Linked DNA regions of Homo sapiens: region 2 is linked to region 1. The links are contacts of gene promoters, found by promoter capture Hi-C in human tissues and cell types (Jung and others, 2019). All regions are on one chromosome and are shown on one strand. The core of a region is centred on a gene start or on the middle of the fragment in contact, and the rest is flanking DNA. Distances in the headings are between cores, read along the strand shown. Region 1 holds the start of RASGRP2 (RAS guanyl releasing protein 2). Region 2 overlaps NRXN2 (neurexin 2).

What was found. Contacts are between HindIII fragments. The study calls those that stand out against the background at their distance.
Region 2: a contact is called between a fragment that was not itself captured here and the fragment with the promoter of RASGRP2 in region 1, in 1 of the 25 tissues and cell types used here (lymphoblastoid cells).

What each region holds. Positions count from the first base shown.
Region 1 is chr11:64,741,288-64,746,612 of GRCh38, forward strand. It overlaps RASGRP2 (RAS guanyl releasing protein 2), which reads right to left and starts at 2,855. Exons shown (of 17, transcript NM_001098671.2): 1 at 2,716-2,855; 2 at 1,507-1,650; 3 at 723-825; 4 at 152-214. The coding sequence starts at 1,579. PYGM (glycogen phosphorylase, muscle associated) reads right to left here. Exons shown (of 20, transcript NM_005609.4): 20 at 5,111-5,325. RefSeq lists silencers at 1,522-1,851, 2,162-2,211, 2,372-2,421, 3,412-3,521, 3,772-3,971 and 1 more. The HindIII fragment of the contact is 18,641 bases long and covers 1-5,325 here.
Region 2 is chr11:64,692,816-64,700,620 of GRCh38, forward strand. It overlaps NRXN2 (neurexin 2), which reads right to left. Exons shown (of 23, transcript NM_015080.4): 3 at 4,960-4,977; 4 at 32-61. Among named protein-coding and RNA genes, the nearest start is that of NRXN2, 26 kb to the right of the region's middle. The HindIII fragment of the contact is 4,113 bases long and covers 2,393-6,505 here.

The sequences.
Region 1 (5,325 bases), core at 1,605-4,104:
AGGGGTGAGCCTGTGGCAGCACTGCCCACCCGGACAAGCCAGGGTTCAAACCCACTCCCAGAAACAGCGCCCTGCCCCCTCCTCCAGGCCAGCCTGAAGCCAGAGAGAAGGGAGAAAGGGGAGGGGCTAGAGCCCCAGGGGAAAGACTCACCTGACCAGGTGGCACGTTTTCACCTGCAGGGAATTGGAGTTGTCCTTCCGGGATTGTTGGTAGGTGAAGGAGAGGGTTAAGGAGGCCGCTTAACTCTAGAAAGGGAGGCCTGCGTGGAGGGAGGCTGGGGGCGGGGCCTGGTTCTAGGAGACACGTTCTAGGGATGGGGCTTGCGCTCTGCGGAGATGCTGGGGGTGAGGCTTGAGCTCTGGGAGGGGTTGGAGGTGGGGGTGGAGGACTAGGTGCTGAGGGAGGCTGAAAGCAAAGCCTGGGCTCTGGGAGAGAGAGATGCACGGGGCGCACCCAAGCCTGAAGCAGGGGCAGGCCCCAGACTCTAGGGAGAAGGAGGGCAAGGCCTCGGCTGGGGACAGAGCCTGGGGACAGGACCGAGTCGCTAGGAGCAAGGAGGGGGCAGAGCCTAGGCCCTAGTTGGAGGCTGGGACGACGCCTGAGCTCTGGGATAAGGAGTGGCCTATACTTAGGAGCGAGGCTCATTCTGCACCTGGGCTGGGCAGAGGGGCTGCGCATGGGCTCCGACGGCGGGGGCCTTGGCAAGGCCGGCGAAGGATATATGTGGAGCAGCTTGGCCGCCAGCTGAGAGGAGGGGATGTACCAGGGGTGCATCATGAGGAACATGCGCACCAGCTGCGGGTCCCGCACCTTCCCGGAGTCATCTGACTCCGAAGGGTCAAAGACAGGTGGCTGAGCTGGGTCCGCAGCTACCATGCCTCATCCTCACCCCGCAACCCGCCAGGTATCGGTCCTTCGGGTGCACGCTCGACCCCGCCCACCTCCTGCTTGCCCAGGACTCCGAGAGCAGGAGGCAAATTAGAGAGGAAAGGTGTGGTGGGCGAGAGATAGGCACGCCCTGAGGACTGGAGGAGGGGAGCGCCCGAGCCGCCCATCGTCCGGAGGGGAACCAGCTGGGGCGGAAGGAGCCTGGGTTCCCCGGGGTCAAGAATCCAGAGGTCATTTCCTGAGCGCTTGGGGGGAAGGGGCACCCCTTCACCAGATAAGCCGCCCCCCATTAGCCGGAAACAGCTCCCAGGCCGGAGATAGCGAGTTCCTCCGGATTCCCCGGGAGACAGATAATGCCCCTCAAGTGTCAGAGTCCGGGACCCGGCCCTCCCTTCGCCGCCGCTGGGGAAGGCTAGAGAAGGGAAACCTCATCTGTCTGAAGGGCGTGCATCTCTCTGCCCTGCGTTGCGGAGGAGGCTTTCGTTAAAGAGACTGCACGCTGCGGAGCAGGGTGGGTCCGGGTCAGGGCTGTGCCCTGGACTGTGCCTGGGAGGCAGGGACCCGGGCTCAGACTCGGGGCTAGGCTCAGGCTCCGTGTGCCCTCCCGAGCCACTCACCGAAGGCTTCGATGCACCCGCGGAGCAGCTCCTCCACCGTGCAGCCCTTGTCCAGGTCCAGGGTGCCTGCCATGGCCGCCGGCGCGGGGTGGGCTGGGCCCAGGCTGCGCTCCGGGAGCCTCCCACCGGGCTCGGACCGAACCCCTGTCCCGGGAGAGGCAGAGCGGGAGTCTGCGGAGTCGCGGGCGGGGGAGCGGCCCCGCGGGCAGAAACGGGGCGGGGCGGGCACGCCCCCTGCTGGACAGGGGCGGAGTTGTCCCCCGCGGCCACTCCCGGGGTTAAACGGTCTGGCCCGGGATGGTGCAACCCGCCAGTTGGGAAACGGACCCGCAGAGAGGCTTCCGGCCCACCCTCGGAGTCGCGGGAAGGCCGAGGGGCTTCACGAGGATGGGGACGAACCAAGATCCCAGGACTGGCTGGCGCCCAGCCCCCCGCAGGGCGCCTTCTCCTCGCGCCCTCTCCCCAGAGGCACCTGCAGCACCCCGCAGCTCGGCTCTGCGCCCCTCCCGCTTCCCTCCCTCCACAGCCTCCCTTCCCCCGCAGGGTTATTTTGGGAACCCAGAGCCTGAGGGGACCTCGGAGGAATTTCTCCCTGGTATGGGAGGTGGGGGGAGAGAACCCAGGCGTCCTGCCCGCCTCGCCCCCTCCCGGGAGCCCAGGAAGGCGAGGCGGGGCTGCGGCAGCCCCCAGGGGGCCTGCCCTAGGGGAGGCGGACTGGATGGGAGAGGAACATTCCTGGGGCGGGGGGAGCCCGCTGCGGCCAGGAGGCGTCAGCGGGAAGCCTGAGCCTGGGAACTGAGCGCTCCCAGGCCACCTCCGCAAAGGTCCCAGGGGTCCCGGCTCAGCTTGTCCACAGGCCCTCTTCCTCCCTATCCCCGGCTCCTGACCCTGGCCCCGGCCCCGCACAGGCGAACTGTGAGCGCGCACGGAGCAGGGTGTCCAGAGGGGGGCGCTCGCGCCAAGGGTGGCCGGTGGGTGCATGACACCATTAGCAACTCCGGTCACTGGCGGGGTCATACGCACCCTGGCAGGGGCAAACACTCCACACCCAAGTTATTCGTCGGAGGCCGGGGACCTAAGTGGAGGTGCAGGCGTCCGCACTTACACGCACCGGGCCACAGGCACCGGCCTCCCATCCTCCGTCTCTCACACACAATGGCACCCACACCCTGTGCACACCTGCACGAAGAAACCCTCAGGCACACATACCCAGCTCGTCCACCCCAGAATGCAAACCCGCGGACGAGGTCGCCTCCTGGACGTGCTGTTCACTTGAGCCAGGCCAGCCTTGAGTCCCGCGGCCACACAGGCGCTGACATCCTCACACGTGTGCACACACGCAAGGCAGTGCCTCTCCACGCATGTACACTCCCACACACATGCACACACCCCCATGGGTGCGCACGCCCATTCCGTCGCCCCCCTCCCATTTGCGGTGCAGGGCCCGCCCTGCGGCCCCAGCTCCCTGACTCCCCTCACTCCCAGATTTTGGCAGAGCCTTGCCCCACGGAAAGGTACCCCGGCCCTACACATACTCACTCCCCCAGGCTGGAGGACAGGGGAGCTCCTGTACGGAGTTCTCAGGCGGACTTTTCCTAAGAGCCACCCAGAGCCGTCCCCGCCTGGCTCTACCGCTTCCTCGTGTGACCTTGAGAATCACTTGGCCTCTGGGAGCCTCAATTTTCTCATCTGCCAAATGGGGGTACGCGGGGGAGGGCCCCGCTGGAAGGTGGCTGGGAAAAGCTGGGTGCACCGTGGAGGTCCTCCGCCCTCCGGGGATCCAGCGCGCCTTAGCTCTCGTGGCCGCTGCCCCCTCTCCCAGACCCGGGCCGCAGACTCCCCACCCGCTCGCCGCCCCCAGCCCGCCCGCGCCGCCCTGGGCGGGGGGGGAGTCGCTGGGGGCCGCGCCCTCCTTCGCCTGGCGCCCCGCCCGCGCTCGCCCACTCACTCTTGGGACCTGCCGCAAGGAGCCCGCACCGGCCTGGCCGACCCCACCTCCGTGCGCTCCCGCCCGCCGGCCTCGCTGCGGCTGCGGCTCCCGCCCGCTCTCCACGCCGCGGCCCCGCTCCCCGCCGCCCCGCCCCCGCCCCCGCGCCAGGCTGCCCCCTCCCCCCTCCGCCCCTGCGCGGAGCTCCGCACCGCCGGCTGCGCCACCCCCACCGGGGGCTCCCTCTCGCCCCGCACGCGGCGGTCCCTGCGGCAGCTTAACCCCTCCCCTGCCGCGCCGCCCGGGAGGCCAGGGCCGCGGGCGGGGGGCTGCGCCACTAGCTGCCCCGAGGGCGGGCGACCGGAGGCCCCGCCGCCCGGGACGCGGAGGGGGGACCGAAACGAAGAGCCCCTCCCCCAACCGCGGACGCCCCAGTGCCCCCCGCCCTGCCTGGGTGTCGGGCGGAGGAAGCCGGGAGGGGCAGGAAGCGGACTGCGGTGGGGAAGGGGCGCCCCGCCCAGCCCCCAGCTCGGGTTCCTGTTTTCGAGACAAACCGTTCCCATGGGGCTAACCCGGCCCGGGACCGGGCGTCTTCCTGCAGGCAGCGGGTGGCACAGGCCTAGTGGAGGTCGGGGGCGTGGGGACAGCTGGTCCTTGAGATAGTCTGGGGGATGGGCTAGGACAAGATGGGAATATTTTGGGGAGAGGGACCTGTGGGGAGCGAGGAATGAAATCGTGGCTATCTGGAGACGCGGCCTTGATGTCTGGGAATGGGGGCGGGGGGCCCAGTTCACACAGGAGGAACGGGGCCCCGGAAGCCTGGCTCCCCACAGGGTCGAATGGAAAGGGGCAGCCGCATGTGGCGGTGGGTTCTCCGCAGCTCGGAGACTGGAGACCTGGATGCCTGGCCAACAGGGAGGAACTTGGGAGGGGCAGCCGCAGGCGGTTGGGGTCCCCACTAGCCGGGCCTAGGAGAGCGGGTAACGGTTTCCGACCATTTGGCTTCAGACACACTCACTGTGAAACCACCGACCCCAAACCTCCCTTCCGAGGCGTGCCCCTCCCAGCCTTGGGGCGGGGGATCCAGGACCGCCCCCGCACCTCAGTCTTGGTAATGTAAGACTTAGAAACAGGACCTTTCTGTTCCTCAGTTTCCCCATAATGAGGGCCTAGACTAGGCGGTCTGCGAGTGTTCCCTGCCGTAACACTCCCCCGACTTTGGATCCAGTGTAGCCACCTGCTAAGAGACCCTTAAACGCCGCAGTAGGGCGGGGCTAAGGGCGGAGCCAAGAAGGCGCCGAGCATCCTCTGCTTCCTCCCCCTCCTGGGTCCTGCCCTCGACAGCGCGGATCCTCCGTGGTCCGGGAAGCCTCAGCCCAAGTCCCGGCTCCCAGCCCCGGTGGGCCCCACCCAGGCAGACGCCCCGCCCCCGGCCAGCGAGGCTGGCCGCTGACCTAGTATGGACACGGCACTGGGAAGAGAGGCGTGGAGGGTGACGCCAGGAAAGGGGCTGGAGAGGCCTAGGCCCCGCCCCCACGGGTCGCCCCCTCCACCTCCCATCACCGTCCCGCCGTGGGACGCACCTGCCGAGGGTGGAGGATAAGGGGGTGACTGCGCGGCTGCTGTTGAGCCCGCCAAGAGCTAAAAATATTTCCCAACAAAGAGGAGTAAGGAGGCTCCCAAGGAGAATGAATTTATTAGGGAGTGGGTGCAGTTGGTCAGACCCCATAAATAGGAGGGGACCGGGAGCCCGAGGACGGAAGGGGGCCCGTGTCCTTAGTCACGCTGGACACTGGGACATTGAGAGTGGGGAAAATGAGGGTTCCAGGAGGGGCTTAGAGATCTAACTCCAGTACCCCACCCTCTGCATGAGGTGCTGGGGCTGGCCCAAG
Region 2 (7,805 bases), core at 3,199-5,698, 47 kb before region 1:
ATCCAAACCAAACCAAAACTTCAAACCATACCTTCGCTGTTTAACGTCAGGTGAGCCGGACCTTGGAAAGGGGAAGGAGAGAAAGAAAGAAAGAAAAAAAGAAGAAGAAAAAAGAAAGAAAAGGGGAAAGAAACAAAGAAAACACGAGTCATCAAAATCAGCCAGAGAGAAGGGAGAAAAAAGCTTTTGCTGCCACAATTTAAAAACCTTTTTTAACTTGTGACAGACATCGGGGGGAGCCCCAGCCCAGGAGCTGAGGAGAGGGGCCCGATGCCGAAACAGCGGGTGGAGGGCACAACAGGGGAAGAGAGAAAGAGAGATTAGGGGCGTCAGAGAGGGTGAGAGGGGTACAGGCAGAACTGGAGGAAGGAGGGGGCGGGGGGCACTGCAGCGGGGAGAGGAGATTTTGGTTTCTTTTTTTCTTCTTGCCGGAAAAAAAAAAAGGAAAAGGAGGAGAAGCATTAGGCTAGGAGGGTTGCTTTTTCCTTTTTCTTTTTTTCTTTTTTTTTTTCTTCCGGGAGGCGGAGAGAAAAAAAAACAGTCAACGAGAAAAACGATTCAGATGGAGGAGAAAATAAAACACGACACAAAAATCAAAGCCACCTGGAGAGAGAGAGAGTGTCCTGTTAGCATGGGATTAAGCGGGCAAGGGGGCCTCCAACCCCCCAACACCCCTAATCCCAGTTACCCCTAGGATGCTGGTAGAAAAGGGGGAAAGATGGGGGGATATAAAGAACCTGGGCCTAAAAGCATCCCCCACTAAAGCGGGGTTTGGAAGGACACCTGTTGGGTTCTAATCCTCCCAGCTACCCTTCCCAATAACCTCTGTAGGGGTAGTAGGGACCCTGCACACCTGGGTTCTAAGAGGAAACTGGGGTTCAAGAGGACAAAATTAGAGAGGAAGCAGGTAGGAGAAGGTAGAATCTACAGAGACACTGAGAGACTGGGGTCAGAGCTCTCAGACAGCAAGGTCCAAAGAGGACAGCCGAGCCCTATGGGAGGAAGCCCAGCTCTCTGAAAGGTCCAAGTACATCATTCATAAATTACAGACCCCCTTTCTCTGACCAGGACCTCTCTCAAATGACCCAAAAGCTGGATTTTGAAAATAGAAAATGGACTGATAGGAAGACCAGCTAGGATTTCCATCCAGGATTACACTGGCCCCTTGAGACAGCCTTGTCAGCCCTAACCCAAAGTACCCCTCCCCAGCCTTAGTGGGAAGGAATCTGGCCCACTGGATCAGTACCCTTGTCCCCAACAGGCACCAGCCAAGGAAAGCTCTCTCCTAGAGAGGCTGGCAGCACCAGGCCCCACAGCTGGGCTGAGACCCCAGGGCTTCCTGAGATGGCCAGCCAGCTCCACCAAACCTCAGAGCCCCCCCAGCCCCACTCACTCCCCTGTGGTGTCTGGCCAAGAGGGTAGGAAGGGGAACAGCCCTGCAGTGCCACTGTCACCCTTGGAAACCAGCCCCACTGCTGTGGCAATGAGATGTGAACCCTAGGGATAGAAAGCTGGGGCCAGGATGGAAGTAGCAAGGTTAAAGAGTTACAAGTATTTCTGAGACGAAGCTGGGGGCCAGGATGCCTGGATTCTAAGAGGAAAGGCAGTGAGGAGGACAGGAAGGACATGGCCAGGGGCCAAAGGCCTGGACCCCGTGGCAGATGGTTCACATTGCCCTCTTTGCCCCATGTCTCTAGGGTGGCACTGGTTTCTCCCCACCTCTGAGTCTGAGGCCACTTGGAGGAGGAGGCCACAGCCGCTGAGGGCAGCCTCAGGACTGAACAGCTCTTGGGAGGATGTAGGTTTTTATCCATCACACAGGTAAGGACCCAAGCATTTGAACCGAGTCTCCTCATTCCTTACTCTGAATACCCTCCTACTCTGCCACCAACCCTTTCCCCAAAAACTACCAGCATCTCCTTCCAAACCCCCTAAACCCAGGACCCAGACCCAGAGCCCTCAACCCACATCCGACTCTCCCGGTCAGAAGCAGCCTTGCTCTCAGGATCCCACCCTTGAGAATCCAGGTCTCTGCCCACCCCCAGCCCAGGAGCCAGGTGCCCTGTGAACCCACCCTCTGTCTCCCACAGGCCTGACTGCTGCTGGAGGAAGCCACATCTCCCTCTCCCAGACCCTTCCACTGCCCAGCTCCTCGCCAGCCTCGTTAGCATTCGGCAGTCTCCCTCTGTCACCACGGCAACCAGCTGCTCAGCTCCCTCAGGCGTGACAGCACCAGCCATCTTGGTGAAGGGGAGGCTGGTTCCCTTCCTGTCTACCCCTGGCTCAGTCCCAGCTGGCCCCAGGGTTTTCTCCCTAAAGTCTGTCTCCCCACTAATCTGAAATCTCTGCTCCCTCCTCCTGGCCCCCAGCCCCACTGGGGTATTCACTTCCCCACATCCACCTGTGGCATCAGCCCCTCCTCCCACTGCTGGAAAAGAGACTGGCAATGATGGATGGCATTGCCATGGGTCCCTTCCTAGGGCACTTTATCTGGCTACTTCTGGGTCTCTTTGCCCTGCCACTAGAGGCTGGGAGGAAAAAGGAGGTGTTCGGCAGGGGTGCAGAGCAGGATCTTGGGGTTCCTGGAGAAAGCTAGGCCTCAGGCACAGTGTCAAGTGGGAAGAAGGCGAAGGTACAGAGGACTCCTTAGAGATATAAGGAGGGCTGCAGGGTCCAGAGCACAGTGCCACAGAGGAGGCCGCCAGCCCAGCCACGTGGAACCACCACCTGCTAAACCCACCTCCCCATCTTCAGTCTCATCCCCTAACTCTCCTACTGAAACCCCAGAGAGAACCACCATCGAAATAAAGATGGTGATAGGTGACCAAATTAAGAGACACACAAGCAGGCACACAGACATGTCTCAGAGTGACACAGAGATGTGTCAGACTCCTAGGTGTGTATACACACACGCGCACACACACACACACAGCCTCCAATACACAGCCCTGCACAGCCACTGACATGCAGGCATCCACAGTGCCACATCTAAACCAGCAGACCACCATGCCACCCAAAGAAATGGCGAGGTGGCGTCCACAGGCCTCCTTCCCCATGGGTCCCCAAAGCCCAGCTTCCCTTCTTGTTCCTGTCTATCAGCCCCTTTCCTCTTCCCTACTCCCACCAGACTCCTTCTTCCCAAGTGCCCCCCTGCCTTTCTTCTTTTGGCCAAGCTGTTCCCCGTTCCTGCCCCACCCCCTACAGCTTGAGGCTTGAGTCTTTCTCTTCCCACCCTTCACTTACCCCCTCTCCTTCCTCCATCTCTCTGCTCCCTCCTTTTTTCTCTCCTCCACCCTTTTTTCCCTTTCTCTCTTCCTCCCTCCATCTCACCCTTTGTTCCGGAGGAGACATGACATCAAGAGCAAGTAAAAGTCACATCAACACTAAATCTTATCTCCAGCCCTCAGAAGGCTGCGTCCACCCAGACACGCAGACTCTCTCTGTGACACACACGCAGAGGTAAACACTGACACACGGAGATGCAAACACAGATGCAGACACACAAAGATGCTGATGCTCTACATAGGCATACAGAAATGTGGGCCACACCACATATGCATCGATGGAGGCGCACAGCACACCCATGCACTCAGACACAAAACCATGTTACGTGTACACAGCATATATCCTCAGGCGTGCACACAGACACACAGACCAGCAGAGTTGTATAAATGTATGTGTATGCAGACATACATACCCACACATACATACATACACACACACACACACACACACACACACACACACACCTGCCTGCTGGGCCCTGGGGACCTGAGGACCCCCAGGGAAAAGAGACATCCAAGAGAGACAAGTCAGACCATGGACATCACGAGGAAAAATGGGTTCCAGCCCCACACTCAGGCCAAGAGCCTCTTGCTGCCTTTCTTTCCCAGGACTACTGCATCCCTGGCACTTTCCTCTCCTCCTCCCCAGGGACGCCCTTGCCCTCCCACTCCACCTTCCCAGGAGAAGGGACTGGGATGCCACCTCATGCCTGCTCTGCTGCCTTCTTCATGGTAGCTATGTGAGCTCATCTTCAACACAGCCTTCAAGCCAGGACTACCTTCTTCCTGCTCTCAGTCCATCCCAGAGGAGGAGAAGAAACAGGGAAAGCCAAATTGCAAGAGAAAGATTCAGAGAATGACAGAAACCCAGAGAGAGCCTGGGGAAGGAGAGACACATGGTCCAGGGACAGAGTCTTGGAGAAAAGGAGGTAAAGACAGAAACTGGAGAGGGAGAAGAGGCCAACAAAACAGGAGATAAAGAAAGAACATACAGAGAGACCTGAGAGAGAGGCACACACCCCACCCTTGCCCTCCGACCTGGATGAAGGAAGAAGCAGCCCACCCCTACCTAGCAACCTGTGGGGCAGCAGCTAGGGGCCTGCCGCAAGTGGCAAGTGCTGGTCACAGTGGGGCAGAGAAGCTGCTCCCACTATACACCTCCAACCCCCTACTCTGCCAGTGCACTCCACCACCCTCCAGTCCCCTGAGCCCTGCACAGTGGCACCAGATTCCAGGGCAGATTTTCCCCAAGCACAGGTTTCTGGGGCAACAGCCCACCCCAGCCTGCCCCAGCATCTGGAAAATTGCCTTTCTAAGCTTCCTAACTTAGGCTGGGCTAAACGTTGTCTACCCACTCACTTCTGGGCACTTCGGAATCCTGTCAGCCCCATCCCTCCACCCCCACCGCTCATCTCTTCCCTAAGTTTCCCTTTCCCTCTCCAGCGTGGAGAGGGAAAGGAAGAAGAAAGGCCAGTCAGCAGCTCCCCCGAAACTCATGAAGAGGGGACGCAAGAGAGTGGGGCAAGGCAGCCAAGGGAGGACCCCAGACATCCTTCTCCGGAGAGGCCCTAAACATGGCAGGAAAGGGAGTCCTTGGGTAGCCAACGACAGTCCCTCATGTAGGATCCCCATGGCAACAGATCCACTACCCCAGTGACAGAGAGGCTTCACTCACCTTCCATGGGGTGCTCCTCTGCAGCCAGCGAGGTTCGGAGAAGACGGAGGCAGAGAGAGAAGAAAAAGGAGGGCTGTTAGCAAAGGTACCACGGACAGGGGCTCCAAGGGGAGAGAGGAGTCCAAGCCCACCCAGGCCCTGACATGAGTCACCCAATGTGGAAGGCCCAAATCTCAAGAAACAGCTATGTTGGGGATGAGGCAGACACAGAGCTGCTCCCTGAGTCAGAACCTCACACACAGTCAGCCAGTACCCATCACACCCAACCCTCAAGTAACATTTCAGGAAACCGAGGCCCAGGACAGGGAAGTAACCACTCAAGGTCACACAGAGAATCTGAGGCAGGGCCAGGAGTGGCAGTCAGGCTTCTCAACTTCCCCAGAGAGGCTCCTACCCTGCATTCCATTGCATCTCACAGACAGATGGGGACACACTCACACCACTAATTGTCTCACAGGGTTCACTAGAGACACACTCATGCTCAGTGACACACTGACACACATAGGCACTTAGCAATCCAGTGACACACACTGTCTCACACAATTCACATATAAAGCCCCTGCACACAGGACCCAACCACCTACGGCCCCTGACCCTCCCAGGGGTGAAAAGACATCAAGACACAGAGAGAACAAACATGATTCTGCCACACAGCACTGTGTGACTTTCATCCTATTCACTTAACCTCTCTGAGTCCCTACTGCCTCTTCTGCAAAATGAGAGGGGTGGACTGGATAGTTTCTGAGGCCTCTTCTGACTCTGATTCTGATTCTAGGACAAATGTCTTCTTAACATCTGGATGAGGCCAAGGGCCCCCAGGCTGGATGGCCATGCCAGTGGGGGAAGAGAGTCCAAATTCAGTGGGCCACACTGGGCCCAGACCTAGACCATGCCACATCCTTTGGATAGGCAGACCTCACCTATTAGGGCCCTGCCTGGATCTGGCCTTGGAGCTCACCAAATGGGTCAAGGGAGAAGATGGAACAACGAGAAGATGGAGACAATTCCTTCAACTAAGCTACAACTCCTCAAGCAGGTTGGGCTCTGATCTTCTTTGTAAGAGGATGGAGGTGCCCCCAGCTCCAAACATTTGCCATGTGCCCACCTCCTGGGAGCCTTTAGATGAAGCAATAGGCAGGAGGGGGAAAACAGCACAATCTACAAACACACAAACCCAGTGGGGAAACACATACTTGCATATGCAGGCCCCAGGATACACACTTATGTACACACAGCTATCCAGTTCACACTCACGCATGCACACATTATCTCCTCCTACCTCCAACCCCATTTGGTGATATCTGTTCATTCGCTCATAGAGAGGTAGCTATACTCTGAAAACAAACATAGTCATTTGTCATACCTTATACCACTCCCATAATCCACGCACATACACAGGCTGAATGCAAGCACCAATACCTACACAGTAATCTACTACATAACACTAGACACACACACCACCACCCCACAGTGACTCCAGTGGCTAAAGCCATACAGCCAGCGATGAACACAGCTCTTTATCTCCCATTTCCTAAACCTACATACACAGTCTTTCCATGTCAACATGTGTTACAAACACACTCCTCTACAACACAGAGCTGCTTCTACCTGACAGCTGCATCACCTAAAAGATACATGTCTAATAGTTTTCTTTTTTTTTTTTTTTTTTTTTTGAGATGGAGTCTTGCTCTTGTTGCCCAGGCTGGAGTGAAATGGTGCGATCTCAGCTCACCGCAACCTCCACCTCCCGGGTTCAAGTGATTCTCCTGCCTCAGCCTCCGGCATGCGCTACCACACCCGGCTACTTTTTGTATTTTCAGTAGAGATGGGGTTTCTCCATGTTAGTCAGGCTAGTCTCGAACTCCCAACCTCAGGTGATCTGCCCGCCTCGGCCTCCCAAAGTGCTGGGATTACAGGCATGAGCCACAGTGCCCAGCAATAGTTTTCTTAAGTAAACTGAATCACATTTCATTTATGGGGGGAGCTGGCTAATAAAGGGGCCCTCAGGAAACCCTTTGGCTCTCGTGAAGACTGCTGTGCCAGGATTTCTTTGGTCCCAGTATGCTAAGACCCTGGTCAGTCAGCACAATTGTCTCACCAGCACCTGTGCAAATAAGGAGGCATGGTGATTTCTAGATAATCCAACATGGTAGGTATTTCAAAAAGTATTTCCACCTGCCAGAAATGTACGTCATGCTATGCTCAGGAAGGTGAAACAACCAGGCTTGGTTTGTTTCTGGCTTTTGAGAGACAGCACCTAGAAACTCACATATCTCTCTTCCTCTGCTGCTCTTTGCTTTCTGCTGATTCACCTATGCCCCTCACCTGCCACCTCAGTCCCCTTCAGGGTTGGCCCCTGCCCTCCACATTCCTCTTACTTCTCCTCGCTCTCCTCAGTGATGGCTCATTTTCGTGCTCAGAGACTCCCAAACCATGGGTAGTCCCGGCCTCCTCCCTGAGTACCAGTCCTGTATCACCATGTGTCCACCCAGCAGTGCAATTGCTCGTCCAACTCTCTGACATCTAAACTCCACCACTGAAGCCATTCTCGACACCTCCACTCCTACAACCAAGTGCTTATTCCCCTGTGCTTAGCAAAGCCCCTGCTTTCAACCAGTGCTGCCTGAGCTCCCACTACATGCCCCACACTGCCCTCATAGGTTCCAGAGATTCCATTAGTTAGCCATGTGCTGGGCACCGTACTGACCCTCACATGCAATATCACACATCAGCCTCACTGCAACACAGAGCTCGGTGTTATCTATCGACTCTGTACAGAGAAGAAAACACACCCAGGAGCACAGAATCACTTTTGCCCTTCTCCACTGCAATCCTAGGTCATCGTA